Linked DNA regions of Homo sapiens: region 2 is linked to region 1. Evidence: promoter capture Hi-C in 16 types of primary human blood cells and fetal thymus (Javierre and others, 2016). All regions are on one chromosome and are shown on one strand. Each heading gives the region's core, a stretch centred on a gene start or on the middle of the fragment in contact. The rest is flanking DNA. Distances are from core to core; before and after follow the strand shown.

Evidence for each region. Contacts are between HindIII fragments. The CHiCAGO score rates a contact against its expected background, and 5 or more counts as called.
Region 2: the fragment with the promoter of PPM1F here is called in contact with the fragment with the promoter of LRRC74B in region 1 in 2 of 17 cell types (M2 macrophages and M0 macrophages); the score reaches 7.3 in M2 macrophages.

What each region holds. Positions count from the first base shown.
Region 1 is chr22:21,041,795-21,049,119 of GRCh38, reverse strand. It overlaps LRRC74B (leucine rich repeat containing 74B), which reads right to left and starts at 3,174. Exons shown (of 10, transcript NM_001291006.2): 1 at 2,995-3,174; 2 at 1,622-1,764; 3 at 1,104-1,236; 4 at 1-169. The coding sequence starts at 3,133. It also overlaps the pseudogene P2RX6P. The HindIII fragment of the contact is 8,622 bases long and covers 1-3,728 here.
Region 2 is chr22:21,949,974-21,957,298 of GRCh38, reverse strand. PPM1F (protein phosphatase, Mg2+/Mn2+ dependent 1F) reads left to right here and starts at 4,451. Exons shown (of 8, transcript NM_014634.4): 1 at 4,451-4,507. TOP3B (DNA topoisomerase III beta) reads left to right here. Exons shown (of 18, transcript NM_001282112.2): 18 at 1-274. The coding sequence ends at 185. RefSeq lists a silencer at 4,259-4,668 and enhancers at 4,662-5,182, 5,229-5,298. The HindIII fragment of the contact is 22,373 bases long and covers 1-6,851 here.

The sequences.
Region 1 (7,325 bases), core at 1,925-4,424:
GACTTCAGGTCTGTGTGGGCCAGCAGGAGTTCGGCAAGGTGCTGGGCCGCCTGCTCCTCCAGGCCATTCCCTGACAGCTGCATCTTCCGCATGGCCTGGTTCACTGTGAGGGCGGCACAGAGGGCCTGGGCTCCTGCCACTCCCAGCTGGTTCTCCGACAGGTCCACATCTGGGGGACAGAACCACTCCTCGGCCAGTGGGATGCAAAGCCAGGCACTCCCCTACTTCTGCCATCCCCCAAACCTCCAGGTCTGAGGCTGAGGAAGGGGACTTACAGGTTAACTGTCCTGGGGTTGCATGGTGGCTCTGGCTCCCAATGGCTGGGTCCCCTCTGCCCCTGACCTCCCCCTCCCTGTGTGCCCACCAGCTTCTGTGTCAAGTGGTTAAAACCGCCTACCTCCTGGTACTGTAGAGACTGCTGTGGTGGGGGGCAGCTATACCGTCGATGGCTGCATCTGGCAGTGATATCACCACCCACTTCAGAAGCCCTCACAGCCCCGTTGCCAGGATTGGCAATAATAGCCCAAGTGGCCATGCATGGAGCACGTACATGGGTCACACACTCTTCTGACCACTTCAGGAGTGCATTTCACTTCATGCTCACCACAGCCCCAAGCCCATAAGGTATTTTGGGGGCCATTTCACAGATCAGAAACTGAAGCTCAGAGAGGTTAAGCTGCTTGCCCAGGTATCCAGCTCTTCAGTGGCAGAACTGGCATTTGGATCCAGCCCCATCAAACTCCCACATTGCCTACCTGCTTCTTACAATGCCCAACTCCCACCTCTCTGTGTGGAAGGACTCTCCCATCCTGCATTCAGGTACTGGGAGTCTCCCATGTGCTAGGTGAAGAGGGGGATGCTGGCCAGCAAGGGAGGGGAGTGATGGTGTGGGGTGGGTGAGGAAAGGACTTCTATCAGGCATCGGCTGCACAGCAGAGGGTCTAACTCCACCCCACATGCCCCCTCCTGTGATGAGGCCCCTCTTCTATCCACCAGCAACACCAGCAGGCCCCAGGTGACACGGCCCAGCTTTCAACGATGGAGGCACATCCCTGAGGAAAAGGAGGACACGCCTGCCCACCTGCCCCAGACCCAGCACCTACCATGGATGCTGCTGCTTTTGCTCAGGGCACCTGCCAGGGCCTCTGCACCTGCCCCACAGAGCCCATTGTCTCGAAGGTCCAGCCGCTTGACATATGGATTGGAGCTCAATGAGGAAGCCAGAGCCCGGGCGCCCTGGGACAGACAGAGCAAACACACTGGCCACTATCCTGGCTCATGCTCCAGGGCTCAGCCCACTCCACATCCTCCAGCTGGAAAGCCCTCCCCTTCCCACCTGTTTTAAGTGACACCTGCTTCTCCTTTTAGGCTCTGTGAAGGTCTCCCCCCACCCCCAGCTCTCCCTGACCCCCCAGCGGGTTAGGAGCCTGCAGGATCCACAACCCTTAACGCCACCTGTCACAGCCTCAATCCCATCTGTCTCCCAGATGTGGAGGGTAGGGCATGACTGACACAGGCAGAAGCTGGGGAGTGTAGGGGACAGACACAGGGGCACTCCCATGGCTGCTGTCTCCCGAGGCCTCTCCCCGTAAGCCTGGATACAGTGTCCCTCCAGTGGTACCTGGGGCCCCAGGCCACGGTGCCGGAGGTTCAGCTCTTGGGCGCTCCCTTGGCGCAGAAAGCAGGAGATGGGCACAACACTATGGGCCCGGCAAGACCTCAGGTACAGTGTGTCCCTGACCAGTTCTCCAAGCCCATCGGTGCCTGGCAGGAGACAGGGGGACGAATGTGGACCCTGCACAGCTACAGCCACCTGTGTCCTCCCCTGCCCTGTGTCACTACCTGGCCTATGTTTTGCCTCTAGAAGCACTGCTTCCTGTGCTTCTTGGGACCACTGCTCCCATATGACAGATGAGGACATCAAGCCTCAGGCAACGCAAATCTTTTCCTTAAAGTCATACGGCTATCAAAAGAAAGCTGGACAACCTGGGCAACATAGCTAGACAAATTTTCTTTTTTTTTTTTTCGAGACAGACTCTTGCTCTGTCACCCAGGCTGGAATGCAGTGGCACGATCTCGGCTCACTGAAACCTCTGCCTCCCAGGTTCAAGCAATTCTCCTGCCTCAGCCTCCCGAGTAGCTGGGATTACAGGCGCCCACCACCACACTGGGCTAGTTTTTTGTATTTTCAGTAGAGACGGGGTTTCACCATGTTGGCCAGGCTGGTCTCGAACTCCTGACCTCAGGTGATCTGCCTGCCTGGGCCTCCCAAAGTGCTGTGATTACAGGCGTGAGCCACCCCACCCAGCCAAAAAATTTTTATATTAGCCAGACGTGGTGGTCTCCTGTAGTCCCAGCTACTCAGGAGGCTGAGGCAGAAGGCTCACTAGAGTGCAGAGTTCAAGGCTGCAGTGAGCTATTATCCTGCCACTGCACTGACGCCCGGGTGACAGAGCAAGACCCTGGCTCTAATAAATAAATAATTTATTTATATATTTATTTATTAATAAATATGAGCCCAAGCAACCCAATGTTGTTTGTAGTAGAAGTCATGGCTGGCCTGCGCTGAGCATCCCACAGCTAGTGGTGGTAGCTAATCCTGCCAGAGTCAGGCCTCTGCCTGTCTGATGCCAAATTGCATGCTGTGTCTTTTAACCTGGATTGCAGGCCACAAATGTTTTGTAAACATTTTACGGGAGAAAAAACCGAGATAGTTCTAAATTCCATACATCCATTAGCTTAGTTTTTCCTGTGGATTGGGAAAACCCGGCTCTGATTTCATTTCAGGGTGGGACAGCCCTTGGTGCACTGTCTGGCGGGATTTTGCATTTTATCCTGATGCTTCCAGGAGCAATGAAGGGAAGGCAGGGGGCTGGAGGCGCCCCGCAGGCGGGTACGTTCCCTGCTGGCCTTAGCCCCAGCCCGCCTCCCCCAACCCCTGCGGGAGAAGACCCCCAAAGGGGAGGAGTCGGGCCTGCCCCCTCCCCCGAGCACCTTCCGTCTCCAGGTCGGAGTCCCAATTGGCCTCGGGACCCTGCTCGGCCTCGGGGACCCCTGAAAGACGCCCACAGGCCACCATAGCCTCTTCTTTCTGCTCTTCATCCTCCCCAGACCTCTCACAGGAACCCCTCATGGTTACGACCCTCTCGCAGTCTCAGACACTGAGTCGGAGACAGCTTGACCCCGCGCCCAGAGCGCGGCCCGGGATTGTGGGCGGAGTCTGCGGCTGCGCTGACCAACCGAATGTGCCGTCCAGCAACAGGCACCCCCCACAGCCAATAGCGACGCGCTCTCCCGCGGCGGTCGCCCCGGCAACCCGGTGTTGTCGGTTGCCGTAGAAACTGTGGCCGGCTTGTGCTGAGGCTCCTCGCCCGGGCTGATACACTGCATGCGCCACAGACCATGCACCGGATTGGGCGCCTTGCTGCGTTTATCCCCCTGCCTCCCCTAGGCGGTTCCAGCATCGCCCCCCTTTCATGGAATGGGAAACATGCCTGACTCCAGAGCTTGTGTTTTCTTCACTGCACTTGGGAATGGCTTTTCAGGAGGGCCTGGGGAACTTCGCAGAGCCAGGTCACCCTCTCACTCTGTGGCTCTCAGTTCTCTTGCATGCGCTGGCCTTTGCATACGCTGTTCGCTCCCCTGGGAACCTCCATCCCCATCTTTGTCTGCTTGTTGAACTTCAGAATCTGCAAGCGTCAGCTCAGAAGTCACTTATTCCTGAAGCTTTACTCAGAGCCCCCCCGGGGCTGTTGCTGCCCTCAGGCCGTCTTCTCACAGCACTGATAACAGCTGTCCTTCCCCATCCTCTCACCACGTCCACTCCCACCGGAGGAAGTGAGGCCAGAGGGCAGGGACAGAGCTGCTGTTTTCTGTGTGCCACCAGGGCCCAGCAAAGAGAATGTAGGGAGGGTGGGAGGTGCAGGGCAGCTGGGGTTAGGGGCTGAAGGCTGGGTGTTGGAGGCTGGATCCTGCTTTAGTGGAAGTGTCCCTTTAACAGCGGCTGGCGTGGCCTGGCTCGGGCCCTGCTTTGCCTCCTGTTCAGCTGCGGCTGCAGCTGCCATGCTGACTCATGTGCCCGCAGCTAGCAGGAGCTGGCAGCATGGGCTCCCCAGGGGCCACAGCAGACTAGGGGCTTCTGGATTATAAAACGGAGAAGTATGTGATGACCAGGAACTGGTGGGGGGGCGCCCTGCAGAGGCTGCTGCAGTTTGGGATCGTCGTCTATGTGGTAGGGTAAGAGAGAAGAGCTTTTGGCCAGGCTGGAGGGGCAAGGGAAGAGGTCGGGGGTGGGGCTTGGTCCTGCTGGGTTGAAGTTGAGGGTTGGGCTGTTTAGGGGCTGGAGGGGAAGGGGCCATAATGGGACGGGGTGGGAGGTAGGCAATACAAGACAGGAGAGCAAGAACAAGCTGTGTGTTTGTCCTGTGTGTCCACCTGCCTGCTTCCCAGTCCCTCCCCACGGCCCCACCCAGGGGGCACAAGACATTGTCCTTAACATCTGTGAGAGCTGGAGCACTAGGCCCCCAGAGAGACCACCAGCTATATCTCCGGTCAGGGGAGTCTATAAGCTCGGAGCTGGGTCTACTGAGGCTGGGGGTGGGTGCTGGCTAGTGAAGGTGATTGTCTGAGGGCACTGGCTCTCTGATGCATGGCTGGAGCTTCTGTCTCGTTCAGGGAGTCTACAGTGGGAAGTGGGGCCAGAGAGGATGCTGGACTGGGAGCCTGTAGGGTGTGGGGAGAGAACTGAGCATGTAGGGCCCAGCTCTGCCCCGTCACTACACGCTGGGGGGACACCACACTGCCCATCTTCTCCTTCCCAGGTGGGCGCTCCTCGCCAAAAAAGGCTACCAGGAGCGGGACCTGGAACCCCAGATTTCCATCACAACCAAACTCAAAGGGGTTTCCGTGACTCAGATCAAGGAGCTTGGAAACCGGCTGTGGGATGTGGCCGACTTCGTGAAGCCACCTCAGGTGGGGGCCCTGATGTTGCTGACGGGGGCGCAAGTCCTTTCCCCACTGACAGCTTGAACACCCGCCATGCAGCCAGTGTGTGCGAGAGAGAAGCATGTGATGCCAAAGGTGGCTGCAGGTTCTCAGGAAGGGCTTCACAGAGGAGTGGCACCTGAACAGGACTTTCAGGGATGTGTAGGAGGTTTCTGGTAGAAAAAGGGATGGGTTGAGAAACCAGGCCAGAGAAACTGCATTTCCGAAGGCTGCCAACAGAAAAGAAGGGAGTGTTTGAGACTAATGGCTTGAGCTTGAGAGTGGTGTGGGAGGGGTGTGGTGGGGCCAGGGCGTGGAACTTCCTGTAGCCCTGCTCCCTGACCTGGGGCACCTCGGTCAGGTGCTCCTCCTCCACCCTTCTCAGCTGCATTTTCCTCTTCCCTCCACCCAGCTTATCCACAGCCTTAACTTCCACCCACCTCTGCTCCTCTGATTCCCAGGGTGTATGTAGCCCCAGTGAACACCTGCCCAGAGCACAGCTGTCTTCCAGGTGCACACTCATATGTCCAAAGATCAATTATTTCCCTCTCCTGGCATGGCCTCTGTGACATCCACTAGTCATGATGGCTGTGACATCCACTAGTGCCTCAGCCAGACCCATGACTCAGCCTCAACCCCTTCCTGTCCCTTCCAACATTTTTCACTACTGCCCATGCCATGCCTGCATGAGACTATGGCCTCCTAGAAGGCCCTTAGATGCCCCTCTCGCCTCCTCCCTACTGCTTGGTGCACACCACACAGCAGCCAAGCTGAACTTTCACACCAGGCATCATGAGAGCCTGCAGCCCCTGTTTCTACCCTCAGGAGGCCCCCCGCCAATGATAGTGGCCACCCATCCCTCCTAATCCCAATGGCTGCCACTCTCAGCACCCTCTGCACAGCCCTCACCTTCCGTTCCTGGGCATGCATTCCCCAAATTCAGTGTTCTCATGGGCAGCACTGGAGGGTCAGCCTCCCCTTCCAACATCCTTGGCCACCCTTTGACCACAGGCAGAGCTTTCTGTCTTCTCACCTGTGCCCTGCCATGCCAGTGCTGCTGTGTGTGGGATGGGAGACTCACCTCCTCTCCATCCTGGCAGGTGCAGGGCCCAGCTCTCCCCTGGATCTTCAGTACTAGAAGCAGCAGGCTGTCGTAATATTCTGGTTGACGCCAGGCATGGTAGTTACAGCCTATAGTCCCAGCTACTTGGGAGGCTGAGGCAGGAAGATCTCTTGAGCCCAGGAGTTACAGGATGCAGTAAGGGTTGATGACACCACTGCACTCCAGCCTGGACGAGTAAAGTGAAACTCTGTGCGCCTGTAATCCCAGCTACTCAGGAGGCTGAGGCAGGAGAATCCTTTGAACCCAGGAGGCAGAGGTTGCAGTGAACCGAGTTCATGCCACTGCACTCCAGTCTGGGTGACAGTGAGACTCTGTCTCAAAAAAAAAAATAAAGAAGAAAGAAAATAAAAGATATTTTGGTTGAACAAATGAGAAAGAAACTTGTCTCAAGAGATGGACATGGGCATGAGGCTTCATGGTCTCAGAAATGGCCAGAACTGCTGCCAGCCTCCCATCTCTGCTTCAATCTGCCTTACGTGGGGACAGGGTTAATGATTTCATGGGGCCAACATCCCTTCCCTCATAAACCAGGCTGCCGGCTTCTGGCCTTTCCAGTCAATGCAAGCCCAGCCAGGCCAACTTTGAGACTTGCCTCCTAGGGAGAGAACGTGTTCTTCTTGGTGACCAACTTCCTTGTGACGCCAGCCCAAGATCAGGGCAGATGCCCAGAGGTGAGTTTGCCCAGGATACTCCCAGCGGGCCCCTCATTCCTCCATCAGCCCCAGGTGGCCACCCGTGTTTCCCTTTATCCTTCCCAGGTGGCTGAAGGCTCAGCATGTGCTTAGTGTCCCCCAGGCACTGGGCTACATCTTTGTGTGAATCATTTCGTTCAGTCTTCACATATCCCCTGCCTGGCAGGAATTCCTGTGATCCCCATTTCAGAGGCAAAGAGTGAGGCTCAGTGAGGTTGAATCACTTACTTAAGGCCTCCCAGGCTGTGGGTGACAGAAACCCGAGCTCTGGCTAGCAATGAGTCAGTCAAAAATAAAAATTAAAACAGTAAAAAATTATTTATAGCTGGGCACAGTGGCTCCCACCTGTAATCCCAGCACTTTGGGAGGCCAGGACAGGAGGTTGCTTGAGGCCCAGAATTTGAGACCAGCCTGGGCAACATAGCAAGACTCCACTCTACAAGAAAATTTTTCTAAAAATTTGCCAGGCATTGCCCCAGCTACTCAGGATACTGGGGCAAGAGGAGTTCAAGGCTGCAGTGAGCTAC
Region 2 (7,325 bases), core at 3,202-5,701, 910 kb before region 1:
TTTGTGACCCCGTCTTCCAGGAGCTGGTGGAGCTGAAGCATGCGGCCTCCTGCCACCCCATGCACCGCGGTGGACCAGGGAGAAGGCAGGGTCGAGGGCGGGGCCGGGCCAGGAGGCCCCCTGGGAAGCCCAACCCCAGACGGCCCAAGGACAAGATGTCAGCCCTGGCCGCCTACTTTGTATGATGACCCTGTCCTCCCTCACCCAGGCTGCAGTGCCATGCAGACACCTCATGGCACTTCAAACTATTAAAATGCATTTTATCTTATCCAGAGCTGGGGCCCCTTTGCTGGTGCAGCGATGTCAGAGCGTTACCGTGTCCCTGGGCACCTGTGGGGCCCTCTCTCCCTCTCCGAAACCCAATACGTCTCCCTTCAGCCTGCATACACGTGCCCAGAGTGCTCCCTGCTATCCCTACACCCTGGCAGTACGGGCAGGGATGCCCCAACCCTGAAGCCCTGGGGAATAGACCCAGTTTGCACTCACACCCCATCTCAATCCGTGCTGCTGATGGTAGCTGTGTGCACAAGCAGTGGCCCTGATGCCTTAAGGAAGGCGGCCTTGACAGCTGTGGCTCCGGCAGGAGAGGAGTCTAGTGGAGCAGGTGGGGCTGGGAGACCCCCTCCCCGGATCTGGCTTATGAATCCCCTTGGTCTTCGCTGCAGCCCCCTGCTCAGGGCCACGCTCTTGACCCCACACTTCTCCGTCCCCTGCTCCCTGCTCCCATCTCTGAGAAGCCCTGTACATGGTGCCCGTGTGCGTCTGGCAGCTTCCCAGGACCTGCTGCAATTCCCATTCTCACAACAAGCCCTTATGGTCTTAGAGGCAGCTGGGTGCCCCATGGAACCCATTCACATGCCAGGTTTAGAAAATACCCTGTAGGCCAGACTGCCGTGTGGTGCCAGGTGCTGGTGGCAGCTGCCCTCTGACCTCAGTGCCTTCTTGTGCTCCCCTCCCCAGCCACCCGAGGAGAGACACCTGTGCGGGATCCACTGTGTGTTGGAAACTCCCTCCACACTCCGCCCGTGCCTCATTGAGTGATGACGGGAGCTCAGCAAAACAGCTTTCCAGACTGTTCAGTGGGACCTTTCTTTGAGGGGCAGGTCAGGAATGTTTCGGACTCAGACCCGCCCCCGCCCCAACTCAGTAGTAGATTCCCAGGCTGCACCAGGACTTATATGAGAGCTCCTGTAAGGAAACCCAGAGCCCACCAAGCATACCCCCCCTGGACCCCCTTCCTGGAGGCCCTCACAGGTTAACACGGGGGTTCCCTGGAACACAGTTTGGAGAGCTACTCGAAGCTGAATGAAAATACAGAGACATGGGGAACCACATAGAGGGTCCTGGGATGTGTCTCAGAAGCACAGGCTTCAGGAAGGAGGGGGTGCTCTCAGAGCTTCTGCCCCCTCCCACCCACTCTGGTCCCATTCTGGGGCCCTAGCAAGGCCACACCTGTTAGGTCCCCAGTGCGGGGCTGTGACTCTGCTCTTCCACCCACAGGGCCCAGTGGACCTGGAGCCTTCTCCGCAGAAGGTTTCAAGACCTCCAGGACCCTTAGGTTATAGGGCTCATTCAGGCTTGGAGGAGCAGAGACGGTTCCTAGGTCTTAAACCCAGACCACCCAGTCCTTCCTTACTATGCTTCTGCACTGCGCTTTCAGCCACAGGCAGGGCTAATCACAAAGTGTTCCTTTATTTTCCTCTGCAGTTGTCCCTTGTGTGTGACCCTCCTTCAAGGCCCTTGGCTTCCGCAGCTTGATTCTGCACTCCGAGTCCATTCACCTTCTCCCATCCAATAGCATCCAACCCCGCTGCTACTGCTGCCAACCTGGCCTTGGGAGCAATGAGGACAAGGAAGGGACAAGACCCCTTTTAGGCCAGAACTGCCTTCAGATCAGCCACGCTCCATGGGACTGTACCTCTGCCCTGGAGGCTGGAGAGGTCAGTGGCTGCAGACTGTCTCAAGGAGCCCCTGGCCCTGCCCACCTAGCCAGGGGTGCAGCCTTGCCAGAGAAGCAGAGAAGCGTCTGTGGCTGGGTGGGTGATATTGAAAGATTCCTTTCACCAGGGTGGAAGCCAGGATCTGAGGCGTGATGGAATGTGGACAGTGAGGCAGTGACAGCGCCACAAGGCAGGAGTCATCTCCAGGCACGTCCTTGGCCTGGAGCCCATAGGGACAAGCTCCTGGTGGTGCCTCACTTTGCCATCCTCTCTAAGCCGCAGACCTTGAATGGAATCAGTGCTCAAGAGTCTAATTGGGCCCACTCTGAGGATGCCTGCGGGAATATCAGCTTTTACCGCACCACACTGCACTTTACAGTGTGGGAGGGCCTGCCCCACGCACCACCTCACCTGTACTGCGGTTCTCAAACTTCACCCTACAGCCATTCTGTTGTAGGTGATCTCAGGGGCAGTTTGAGAAACAGTGGCTCAGGGTCTCACAGCAGCCCTCTGAGATAGGTTGGTTGCTATTGTCCCGATTTTTTCTCATCAAGAAACTGAGGCTCAGGTGAGCTAAGGAATGTGCCCAGGGCCACTGTTTATAAGAAGTAGCCTCAAGCCTTGCTCATGGTTACTGCCCTGACAGGGATCTAGGAAAGAGTGAGCAGGAGAATGGGATGAGGCAGGACCCTCCGCCCCAGCCCTGCTTTCTCTGCCCAGACACCTCCTGCCTTGCAGACCCAACCCCACCCCAGATGGTTTCCTTTCCAGTCACCCAGCTGCTAGTTCTCCAGGTTCCTGGTCTCACTCCAGGTTCCTCCTGTTAGAGAAGCATCCCAGAGACATTCATTCCTGGCAAGGACACAGGCCTGCGGACCTGAAGGTCAGGTGGGCAGAGCCACATAAGATCTGGTGCCCCATCCTCCATTTAAAAAATTATACTTTCCAACGGCATTGGTATAAAGGTGAATATATTAATATCATATATTAAAACATTTTCTTTGACATAAAGGTTTCTTTCTTCTGCCTTTAAAATAAAATATTTTGGCCAGGTGTAATGGTTCACACCTATAATCCCAGCACTTGGGAAGGCTGAGGCAGGAGGATCACTTGAGCCCAAGAGTTCAAGACCAGCCTGGGCAACATAGAGACCCTGTCTCTACAAATTTTTTTTAATCAGCTGGGCGTGGTGGTGCTTGCCTGTGTTCCCAGACACTAGGAAGGCTGAGGCAGGAGGGGAGGGTCACTTGAGCCCAGGAGTTTGAGGCTGCAGTGAGCTGTGATCATGCCACTGCACTCCAGTGTGGGCACCAGAGAAGGAGCTTGTCTCTAAAAAGAGAGAAAAAGAATATTTTCAAGAGCCTCTGTGTTGGCAGAAAAATGGCCCTTCAGAGATGTTCATGTCCTATACCTGTGCCTGTGTTAGATTACATGGCAGACCCGGCATAGTGGCTCACGCCTGTACTGTAATCCCAGCACTTTGGGAGGCCGAGGCAGGCAGATCATTTGAGGTCAGGAGTTTGAGACCAGCCTGACCAACATGGTGAAACCCCATCTCTACTAAAAATACAAAAAAAATTAGCCGGGCATGGTGGTGCGTGCCTGCAGTCCCAGCTACTCGGGAGGCTGAGGCAGGAAAATCGCTTGAACCAGGGAGGCAGAGGTTGCAGTGAGTCGAGGTCATGCCACTGCAGTACAGCCTGGGTGACAGGGTGAGACTCCGTGTCAAAAAAAAATAATAATAATAATAAGGGGCAAAGGGGAATTAAGGTTGCTAATCAACTGATTTAGAGAGATGATGCTGGACTATCTGGGTGGGCCCAATGGCATCAGGAGGGTCTTTAGAAGTAGCAGAAGGAAGCAGAGGAGGGAACCAGAGGTGGCAGTGTGAGAAAGGCTCAACTGGCCATTGCTGGCTTCGAGGCTGTAGGAAGGGGCCACGAGCCAAGGTATGCAGGGAGCCCTTAGGAGCTGGAAAAGGCAGGGGAACAGTTTCTCCCCTAGAATCCTCAGAAAGGAACGCATTCTGGCGATCCCTGGATCTTCGCCCACTGAGGCTAAGTGGACTTCTGACCTCCAGAACGGAAAGATAACAAAAGCCTCAACGTTTGTGGAAACAAACAACTCATAATGAGCCTGGGACTGTGCCTCCTTCCCGGACGGATGAGCCTGCCTGGGCAGTCTGGGTTTGCATCCCTGCTCTGTCACTTACCAGCTATTGACGGCAGAAGTTGCTTAATTTCTGGGCGCTGTGACCTAGGGATTGCTTTCCCCATCCAGCCGCCCACCCAAAGCTGCAGAAGAGAAGCAAGAGGCTGGTGACTGGGGCGGCTCCGGAGCCCAGGTGGAGCCGCAGTTCGCCTACCACTAAAGGGCCGCAGTCACCGTCCACGTAGCCGCCAGGGGGCAGCAGAGGTCCGGCCCCGCCAGCCTGGAGGCCCGACTGCGCCTGCGCGGCGCCCGCGGCGCCCGCGGCGGCCAGGGACGGGAAGTGGGCGGGGCCGGCCGGCAGCAGCTTGCGGGACACGGAGCCGCGAGGAGACAGCTGAGGCCCGCGGAGACCAGGGGTGAGGAGGCCGGGGGGGACGGGATTAGAGGGCTGACGGGGCTGGGACGAGGGTCAGGCGAGCGCCCAAGGCGCACAGGGGTGAAATGGGACCGAGGAACCGGAGGGGTGGAATCAGAGGGCTGGGGAGGCAAGGAGGCCGAGACGAGGCTCACATGGGTGCACCGAAAGGGTGCGGGGGTGCAGTGCGGGGGGCCGAGGAGCAAGAGGGGCCGCTGCGGACATGAGGAACCCGAGGCTGGGAGTTGGGGGGCTGGGGAGCCAAGGGGGCAGAACTGGGGGGCAGGCGGGGGTGTGGCCGAGCCGAGGGCCTGGTAGGGACCGAGGGCTATGAGGCAGAATCGGGTGCTGAGGGGGACGCGCCCCATTTTCCGAGATTTGGCCTCTCCCCACCCCCCAGGAGCCTCTGGGCCGGCACGTTGCCCCATATCCCCCCAGTCCCTGCACCTTCAGGGGCCCAGTCTGCCTGATGGCCCCCGGCTCCGCGGCCTCCCAAGCGTCCGTGAAGCGAGCGTCAGCTGCACAAGTGCTCGGGCTGCAGCTGCTTCAGCCACAGGTCTGTGAGCCAGAGCCTCAGGCGCGGAGGCCGGGCACATTGCCGCTGGGTTCGGTCAGGCAAGCCCCTGAACCTGTCTGTACAACAGGAAGAACTGGCTCCGGCTGCAGGGATTTCGGCACAGCGCTTGACACACAGTGAGGCCCACTGCATGGTGGCGGGCTCCTTCGAAGCCTTCCACCCTGCGGGACAGAGTCACACATGTCGTGGTGGCATTCCCCGGGACAAGTTCTCTGGGCCCAGCTGAGCTCTCACCACGGGGGATAGAAAGTGGGGCCGGCCAGCACTCTGAGGCCATCTCCAGTCTCTTCTGTTGTCAAATTTCGCTCTTTTCCTCCTGCACGCGAGGTGGAAATACCAAAGGCATTGGGCATCCAGAGACCTTGATTGAGTTCGCTTTGCCCTTTCACCTGTGTGAGACCTTAAATGGGTGCTTGCCCTCCTATAACCTATTTCTTCATCTGCAGTGTAGCCTGACAGTATGTACTTCTCAGCGTAGTTGTGAGAGGTAAACAAAACGAATGCATTTCTGAAAGCCATGAACCTCTACACAAGTTCATTTGTGGAATTCCTTTAAGATACCCCCTGAAGGCCGGGCGCGGTGGCTCATACCTGTAATCCCAGCACTTTGGGAGGCCGAGGCAGGCATATCACCTGAGGTCAAGAGTTCCAGACCAGCATGGCAAAATCCCATCTCTACTAAAAATACAAAAATTAGCCGCGCGTGGTGGCAGGTGCCTGTAATCCTAGCTACTCAGGAGGCTGAGGCAGGAGAATTGCTTGAACCTGGGAGGCGAAGGTTGCAGTGAGCTGAGATCCCACCATTGCACTCCAGCCTGGGCAACAAGAGCGAAACTCCCTCTCAAAAAAAAAAAAAAAAAAAAAAAGGATACCATCTGACCTGAAGCCAACCGAGTCTTTTAAGACCTGGCGCTGCTGCCCACTGCACCCTTCAGAGTGGTGTAGCTTCCTCAGCCCATGCCACCCGCCAGTCACTCTTCCCTCTGCCATCACACTTACCACCTGCTGTACACAAAGGGCCATCGTGGGCTCCCTGACTACAGGGAGCTTACAGTCTATCAAGAAAGTCAGGCCTGTAGAAAGAAATGGTCATTGCACAGCAATGTGACTATGCTTAATGCCATGGAACTGTACGCTTAGAAATGGTTAAAAGGATACATAGTGTGTATATTTTACAACAATAAAAAAAATTTATATATGTAGAAAAAAAATCTAGGATTTACATCTAACTATTATTAGTATTAGTAGTTATGAATAAAGAAATAAGAATCTCTTTTGGTAGAAAAAGGTTGGCCAGGCGTGGTGTCTCATACCTGTAATCACAGCACTTTGGGAGGCTGAGGCGGGCAGATCACCTGAGGTCAGGAGTTCGAGACCAGCCTGGCCAACATGGTGAAACCCCATCTCTACTAAAAATACAAAAAAATTAGCCAGGCGTGGTTGTGGGTGCCTGTAATCCCAGCTACTAGGGAGGCTTAGGCAGGAGAATCACTTGAACCTGAGAGGCGGAGGTTGCCGTGAGCCAAGATTGCGCCACTGCACTCCGGCCTGGGTGACAGAGCAAGACTCTGTCTCAAAAAAAACAAAAACAAAAAAAAACAGTTAACATGAATGATGCTTTTGTTACACTATAGTGGTGCAGTTCCCTTTTCTAAGGATTGCTGGGTTTTTTTCATTACCTTGGTTCTGCAGTTAAGCAAGACTCAACAAGTATTTTTTCTATGTCCCCTAAAAAACTGCAGTTGTTAAACCCTGCATTCGTTAAGCTTAGGAGTCAAAACTAATGCACTAGAGGAAAATAAATATTTTAAATTAAAAAAAAAAAAACTTTTTACAAGTCAGATGTGAGCAAAAGTGCCATAGAGACATGAAAGAGAGCATGCTGGATCCAAAGATGGGGAGATTTCAGCAAAGCCTCAAAGGATCTGAGAGATCTCGGGAGGCAAAATGGAAGGAGGGCACCACAAAACAAGGAGGGGAGGGGCTGCCCTAGGGTGGGGGGTACACAGAAATGGAAGGAGGAGCCATGAGAGAGCCAAAGCCCAGAGCTGGTGGCCAATGAGGGACAGGTCAGGGATAGAAGGAGTCAGAATGACTTCCCAGGTGTCATCACAGTTAAGGCCCAGGTTCCCCAGCATGAACCCCACCCTGGGACTTTGGGCAAGTTCCTTAGCTCTTCTGCTACAGCCTGCCCTGTGAAGTGGGGATAACCACAAGAGGTTGTTGGGAGGCTAAAAGCCAT